Regions from separate parts of the Homo sapiens genome. Here region 2 is linked to region 1. The links are contacts of gene promoters, found by promoter capture Hi-C in blood cells and fetal thymus (Javierre and others, 2016). All regions are on one chromosome and are shown on one strand. Each heading gives the region's core, a stretch centred on a gene start or on the middle of the fragment in contact. The rest is flanking DNA. Distances are from core to core; before and after follow the strand shown. Region 1 holds the start of SORBS1 (sorbin and SH3 domain containing 1). Region 2 overlaps SORBS1 (sorbin and SH3 domain containing 1).

Region 1 (3,786 bases), core at 264-2,763:
AGGTGCAGATAGGGGAAGGCCGTGGGCTGGGGGCTCCCTAGGTTGAGTAGTTCCCCAGTGTTTTCTCATTTATAGAGTAAGCTTCCAGATGGCTAGGACTCTTCTTTTTTTTTTTAATACACAGCAGAGGACACCAGGTGGTCACCAAAGACTTGTCACCGTTCCCTGACATCTAAGAATCTTTGCTGATGAGTTTCCGATCAGTCTGTGCAGTTATCAAGGCCAGTCTTTACCCTGCCACCCACAGCCTGTTCACTGAGAATGTGCTCTGGCTGAAGATGCTTGCAAGGGCAGCTGACAAAAATCAGTTGTGCTCAGCCCAAAGGGCGAGTGTCTTATCTTCAGGGATGTGGGAAGCTGGGCATGGAGGGAGCAAGTTCCAGACCAGTACTTGCTGGCTCTGCGACCTTGGGCCAGCAGATTCCCCACTCTGATCCCTGTCTCTGTTTCCTTTTCTGTAACTCTGAGGGGGACTAGAGGAGGTCAGGAGAATGGCATAGCACAGTGGTTAGCTCTGAACCCCATCTAACACGGTGCCTTCCCCCCACTTGCAATGACCTTGTTGCATTGTATGCACTCTACTTTTCACATTGTAGAGGATCTTATTTATTTACTTGTCTCCACTAAAATGGAAGCTTCCTAAGGGAAAAGGCCTTGCCTGTCTTGTTCTCTGCAGTTAACACTGGGGTCCAGCACTGCCACAGAGCCTCTAAATATATGTGTGTTGCATGAGTGAAATCTCAGAGCCTGGGTTCAAATCCTGGTTGCACCACTTGCTGTGTGACCTCGGACAAGCCACTTAAACTACACCTCAGTTTTCCTGCATAAAAATAGTAATTATTTTCAGTTTTCTCACTAGAAAAATATGGATTAGTAATCGTTCCTCTCTTATCAGGCTAAGAGGATCAAATGAGGAAATATCCGGGAAGCATTAAGCACACTGGCTGGTACAGAGCACACGAATGACAACAGCAAACGTTTATGTAGCACGACGGCCAGGAACTGATCAAAATGCATCACCTATGTTAACTATGTTAATCTTCACTAGATTTTACGAAGTCGGACTATTATGCCATTTTACAGATGGGTAAACTGAGGCCCAGGAGTTAAATAACTTATCACTGTTATTTTACGTCTAAGGTTCCTTCCAAGCTCCCCGTGGGCGACCCTTCCGAAGGACCAGAAGGCGCGCCAGGCCAGCGTCCGGCCCGGCCAGGACGGAAAGGGTTACTAGGCCCGCGCGCCCGTTACCGGCGGAGGCCGGCGGGCTCACAATGCCAGGAGCCGGGCGCCGGACACTTCTTCGCCTCCCATCCGCGCACACGCCCCTTCCTGTCACGGCTGGGCCCGGCCCCGCCCCCGGCACCGCCCGCTGGCCGGGCGCTGCCAGAGTGGACGGTTCCAGAGGCATGCTAATGAGGGGGCGGGCACCGCAGCCCATTGGTTGTCCGCGGAGTGTCGGTGAAGTCAGCGCTGAGTCCCAGAAAAACAGAGCGGGGCCAGCTGCAGCGTGTAGTGCGAGTGGGGCGGACGCGCGCAGCCCGCCCGCCCGGCGACCAGCAAGGTAAGCCCGCGCTCGCCCGCCCGGCCGCGCTTGCCCGCTCGGCGGCGGCAGCGCCGGGGGTGTGCGCGGCTCGGCCCCCGCGGGCGGCGCCTTTGTTCCGCGCTCGGAGGAGGCGCATTTAAAGGGCCAGCTGTTGGAGGGACTTGGGGGACCCCCTCCCCCAGAGCATCCCCCCATGGGCACAGGGAAAGCGGTGGTCCCTCGCGGCCGAACCGTCCATCCTGCCTGCTCGGCGAATCCCCAGTCTTTCAAGGAAAGTTCCCCAGGGTGCGGAGGATCTGGGGGCTTCCAGGGTTGGGGGTTTTTAAATTTCCTTTTTTGGTGGGTGTGGGGTAGTACGATCATGGCCTCTGCTAGGAGAGAATGTCCGCCCGTCTCAGGGTGGCTGCAATTTGGGTGGGTGGAGGAGACATCAAAGCCCGAATGGGTTTGTGCTGTAAAGTGAAACTACCGAGGAGGGGCACCTCTGCAGCAGCCAGAGGAAGGCGGAGGGAGCGAGCGGCGGGATGGAGGCATCTCAGGTGTGTTCATTCATCAGCATCCCCTGGAGAGGGCGGCGGGAGGGGCGCAAGGACGACGCGGTTGGCCGGACCCGCCTGAATGAACGGGGACTAGTATGCGCCGGGGACACGGCGCCTGCCCGTGCCGCCCGTGCCCCTTCTTCTCCCCGAGTGGCTGACAGCATCTTGCTAGGCAGCTCATCACCGACATGGACAGCAAGCAACTCCTTTCTCCGAATTCCCCGGGCATCCCCTGCTACCACCTCGCTGCTTTCCGATGTGGCTTCCTTGATACGTGGTAGCGCCATTCAAGATAGAGGGGAAAGAGGCTTGAAGTCATTATGTTTCCTTCATGGGGGAATGTGCTGTCGAATTCTGCATCCCCATGCATCCGCTGTCGTAAGATGGCTTTGAAATTCACCAGTGCATGCTTTCTCCAGGCAGACAAGAATTTATTACGCTATTACATTGCTACGTAAAAGCAGAAGGGATCCCACTGAGCATGGCTCGTTTTGTTCAGTCCTCGGTTTTTCCCAGCATGTTCTGGGCGAGCCTTTGGATTTTTGTTTTAAACACTGAGCGTTGGGATGCCCCTGTTGTCACAGGGCCGACCTGCTGAAATTGCTGGAATTGGTTTCATCGTCAATAGGAGGGAGGTTCATCTAGAGACATCATGGAACCTATCTGGCGTGTCAGGCCTCTGACTCCATCTCTCCCCTCAACACCCCCCCCCCCGCCCAGCCCCCCGCGCCCTTTTTTCCTCTTAAGTGGAGGCGGGGGATGGATTGGCTGTCTTCACTCTCCTTGTGTTTTGAGCTCCTCTGCTTAGATTCAATTCTGTGGTTTTGGTTGGAAAGGTATCTTGGTGGTGATCGAAGAGAGGAGGGTTGGATTAAAAGTGGGGTGGACACAGAGGGGTCAGCAGCATCAATGACAGAAGACAGATGATGGACATATCTACAGCCTTCAGACACCGATGAGGCAGATGGCTGTCTACAGAGTGAGGGGCGTGTGTTTGGGCTGTGAGGGGGAGGGGTGGAGGAGGAGGATGCCTCCAGCAGTTTTCTGCCCCGCCCTCTGGATGCTGCCTTAAATAGCCCCTTGCCAACCAAGCTCTGATGTCTCTTTCTTGGCCTGAGGGGAAAGAAGGGAAGGGTTGGTCTGTTGGCACCTTTGCCCAAGGCACTGTTGGAGCAGATGGTTAGGAAAGGGTTAGTTCTCCAGGGGTTGCAGAGAGCACATTTCTCAGCTGGAGGGCCCTGAGACCACTCCTTTGGCGACTTCCCTGCAGGGAATTAGCAACTGAAATGAACTGCTGTCTACCCTGTGGGGTAAAGAGTTGGGAGGGTATTGTCATCTTGTGGACGATACCCGCCTTGTTGGCCTTTTCCTTCTCCTACCTGCTTTCATTTGTTGTAGTTGGAGAGTTTCTGTATACTTTTCGGAAGAGATTGGGCATATTGGGGAGTGGGTAGGAGTTATGGGAAAGGATGAGCAAATTCTTCCTGGCAGAACAAAGCACTGTTCAGCTGTTCCTCTCTTTCCCCTTCTCTAAAATAAGAGTTCAATACAGATAGCAGAGTCTAGGGTTTTCTTTGTAAACAATGAAAGGGCAGGGCCAGGAAAGAAAGTTTTTATTGTGCAGCATTGATAATGATCAGGTCATCCTAACTTATCTCCAGACCCTTCCCTGGATGTGGAGATAGATTTGCTGTAGAGGGC
Region 2 (3,992 bases), core at 18-2,517, 190 kb after region 1:
AGTATTCAGCCTACAGTTGCCCCATGATATCTCTGAATTGGCTTTGGTACAAATTGACTTTTGGCACTTAAAGGAGGATTTTCTTAGCCTTGCACCCAAAGGAATATAAAATAGAAGGGAGAATTGAGCTCATCCTTCCTCTAGAGATAACGAAACTGACTTTAAAACTCTAGTTATTTTAAAGTCTTAATTATTACAGCTGCAAAAAGAATTTACAGGTAGAGGAGTTAAGTGTATAAACACATTTTATTCAATGATTGTATGAGACTTTATGCATTGGATCCAGCTTTTGAGTTTCTGTGGTCTGGGATGATAGTTTTATTTGCAGACAGGAATGTATTTTATAGTTGAGTAAATAAAATGTTTTAAAATTTTTTATTAAAACAAAGACAAAGAGAAATTAAGTTGGTGCTTAGGAATTGCTCTTTGATTTGGCAGTGCTGAGCTTTGAAAGTTCAGGCATCTTCTGAGTTAAGAGCACCAGACTTGCAAACAGCCTGCTTGTTCCTCTCTTCTGGTCCCTCCTAGACACTGTCTCCCGATAGCAGCTGAGCTGTCCTGGATGAACAGCGCCACCTAGTGACCAGTGGAGAGGGACGCATCTGACCCAAAGTCTGCACCCTCCTTCTCCCCTCCCCAAAGCATTGGTGCACACCTCATTTCTTCTCCTTTCTCTCCTTTCTTTTTTTCGCCTCTGCTGTTCACCATTCAGACATCAGTTAAATCTACCTCAGGCAATCTTTTCCACGTGCAGTATTTAACAGTATCCTAACCCTTTCTCTTTTCTCCTTTTCTTAAAACCTGGTCAATTATGTCACCGAAAAAAGCTTTTGCTGTGTGTAGTTGTCTCCCCACCCCCAAAACAGACCATGATTGGTATATGAAACAATAATGCCATACTTTAGTCAAGGAAAGCAAAAGCTATTAAGTTATGTTTAATAGAGTCCATGCCGTTGATTTTTCAAGTCTGTTTCAGAATCCACACATTTCTGCCCATCTCATCTGCCAAACAACTAAATTAGTTTTATCTAAAATATTAGCTTTCAGGAAAAATGGTGGAATTTTTTCCCTAATTAGTTGTGATTGTTTTACTAAATCTATCATTACAAATAATTTTTGAGGATAATATATAGTATTTTAATACCAGCATACATTTAAATAGTCTCCATGCATAGCTTGATAAATTAACAGTATTGCTGCCAAAAACTTCACTCCAGGTACCACACAGCTAACTTCAAACAAATGTTGAGAACACAGTCCAGTTGTATACTGGGGCTTTCCTCTAGCTTGTCTCCCCACCCCATTGCTCTAACAACCTCTTAATTATTTAAAGACTCAGAGATGCTTTTTCAAAGTAGCATTTTCTCTGAAGCCACATGCATTCTTTGCACAGGCCTCAGAGTTCTTCTAATGAGACTGCTTCTTTTTGTGTAGGTCTTACTTTAAAAGATAATACTTGTGAAGACTTGCCAAATTAACTAAATCAATGCCCATATCCTGAGGAACAGTCCTGAAATGAACAGCTCCTTATGGTCTGAGGCATCCTAATGGTGGGCTTATTACCTAGTTGAACTAACAGGGTTTGGGAGGAAGGTGTGGTAAGGATAAATTTTTTCTTCACTTCCTACTGCAACCACTCTGCCACAAAAGAGTAAGAGACATAAATAAAAGTGGCATAAACCATGGAAGCTGTTTTGGAAAGCTTTTCAGCCATTCAGAAGCAGAATCAAAATCCTACCAGATCATGGGAATCAGCATTTCTACTTTTTTTTTTTCTCACACCAACTGGGGACCACTTTCCCCAGTAAAGCCTGCCAGAACTTTGACACTAGACATTTACCCTGAACTCCTTGCTTCCTCCACCCCTTCGCTTTAGCCACCCAAAATGAACTGAAATTTCAGCAAGATCCTGACTAAAAAGATACCTTTTTAGCTCCAACAAGTTGTTAGAATAGCAAATAGTTCAAGACTCCAGGGACCATTTTTGGACAGATTATTTAAAACCAGTTTAATTTGTAAACACTGCCCTGTTTATTGCAGTAAAGAAATGATCGTAAGTCATTAGGCTTTAAAAAGTCTACTTCTGCAGATGAACAGTCCAAGTGTATTAAGTGCTTAAAGATGAATGGTAATTGGTAATATCACTTACTTTATGAAATGCGGAATATACATGTGCAGAGATGACATTACTGACCTGTTGCTGTCAGTGGTGAACACACCTTGGAATCAGATTACTTCTCATTTGCAGATTTATTACAAAGAGCCTGGGAATCAGTTTTTTTTCTGAGTTGTTTTCCTCTAATTTCTATAGAAATTGACATGATTTCTATATGTAAGAGCAAGTCAAAATTTCACAATGTAAACCAATTTGAATGCTTCCATGGAGTTGGCTATAATGAAATTTGCACAAAATTTTAGGAGCTATTAATGATCTCCTATTTCTTATCACCCTAGGGGTCATTATGTAAGAAAATTCAAGTCTAAATAGACAGAACAAGTAGAAGAGAGGATCCAGAGTTAGAAGTCACCTGTAACCTCTGAATGTTCCACCCGCTGGACTCTTCCCTCATTAAACTTACAACAATCTTTTGGCAAATTTCTGTCTTAGGAATGCAGCTGTAAATCTGACTTGAAGAGTTAAAAGACAAAACAAAAATAACCTTACAGTCCCCTCTTTAAATTCTGGGTTTAAACTCTGTTCTCTAAGGGGGATGAAAAGTATGTTTCTACCACTATCAAGGTCTAGTTAAACTGTAAAAGGAGGTTTTAAAACTACTGGTATGAAATTGTCTAGTGTACTATTTAACACCCATTTTATATATGAATTTCTTTGCTACAAACCACAGAAAGTAAATTTGGTTCAGTCTGTTGACCAAACCTCTAGATTCACACATGTGTTAATACACAATGAATTTTACAGCAGAAGACTGCCTCAAAAATGTGGAATCTTCAGTGTCAATCTTAGTTTGAAGAGAACAATGAGGAATTTAAAAGTTTCTGTTTTTGTTCAAATTTGTTAATGCTTTTTTTTTCTTTTTTCCCCCCCGTCTTTTCTTAAGTTTTCAATATTTAGAATCCAACGATGATTTGCTCTTGAAACATAGACATAGAAACAGACTTCCTAGGTAACAGTCCCAGCTCCCAAATCCTCAGGCTTCCGCTCCAGCAGGCAGCCTTGTGTCCGTAGGCAGCACCCACTCCCCTTGCTTTTGAGTTCACCTTTCTGTGTTGATACAGTTCTCCCAGTGTACCCCTCCTTGTTTGAGCCAGTCTCCATGTTTGTCTTTATGTCTTTATGCTCATTTCTTCATTTCCTCCTCTGCTTCCCGTCAGCCTCCCAAAAAGATATGGGATTATACTCCTGGAGACTGCTCTATCCTTCCTAGAGAGGATAGAAAGGTAATTCCGCTGTGCCTCCTCCGTTGGACTGTGTGTGCTCTCTAGCCTTGGTTAGTGTGAGTGTGTTGTGGGTTTGTTTGTTTGTTTGTTTGTTTTCTTAAATCACTTTTGAAAAAACTTGATGCTTTTTTTTTTTTGGTTAGGTAATAAAACTATGTAACAAATTCTCTAAGACATATACTAATGTTTAGAGGTTTTTAAAGCAATTACGTATTCTTCTGACATATAGTATTTGTCACTGTCACCACACTCTGAAAAAAGAGAAAATAGGCATTTCCTTAAAGGTAGGTTTTTGTAGTTCTCCGTAGCAAGTAGAATAGCTTTTTGAAGCTCTGATGACTTCAGGATTTCTGCTTTATATGCCTAATGTTACATTCTCTGTTTTCATGTCTTCAACTAATTTCCAGTGAGCTCTTGTGTTTTAATCATGCTATCTTGGCCGTATGAAAGTATAACACTAAGAAAAAAATTCATTTTTTTCAAACGTAACCTTCCATTCTTTCTCCCTTTCCTCTAAACTAAAACCTTCTTTCCCATCTTTTCTTTCTTGAACCAGACTAATCTAGACAAAGATCTCAGCCTCTGCCAGACAG

Evidence for each region. Contacts are between HindIII fragments. The CHiCAGO score rates a contact against its expected background, and 5 or more counts as called.
Region 2: a contact is called between a fragment that was not itself captured here and the fragment with the promoter of SORBS1 in region 1, in 2 of 17 cell types (M2 macrophages and M0 macrophages). The highest score is 7.4, in M2 macrophages.

Annotation. Positions count from the first base shown.
Region 1 is chr10:95,559,098-95,562,883 of GRCh38, reverse strand. It overlaps SORBS1 (sorbin and SH3 domain containing 1), which reads left to right and starts at 1,513. Exons shown (of 33, transcript NM_001034954.3): 1 at 1,513-1,564. RefSeq lists silencers at 1,164-1,533, 1,574-1,683 and an enhancer at 1,168-1,930. The HindIII fragment of the contact is 3,213 bases long and covers 638-3,786 here.
Region 2 is chr10:95,371,391-95,375,382 of GRCh38, reverse strand. SORBS1 (sorbin and SH3 domain containing 1) reads left to right here. Exons shown (of 33, transcript NM_001034954.3): 20 at 3,334-3,399; 21 at 3,956-3,992. Among named protein-coding and RNA genes, the nearest start is that of PDLIM1, 82 kb to the right of the region's middle. The HindIII fragment of the contact is 875 bases long and covers 830-1,704 here.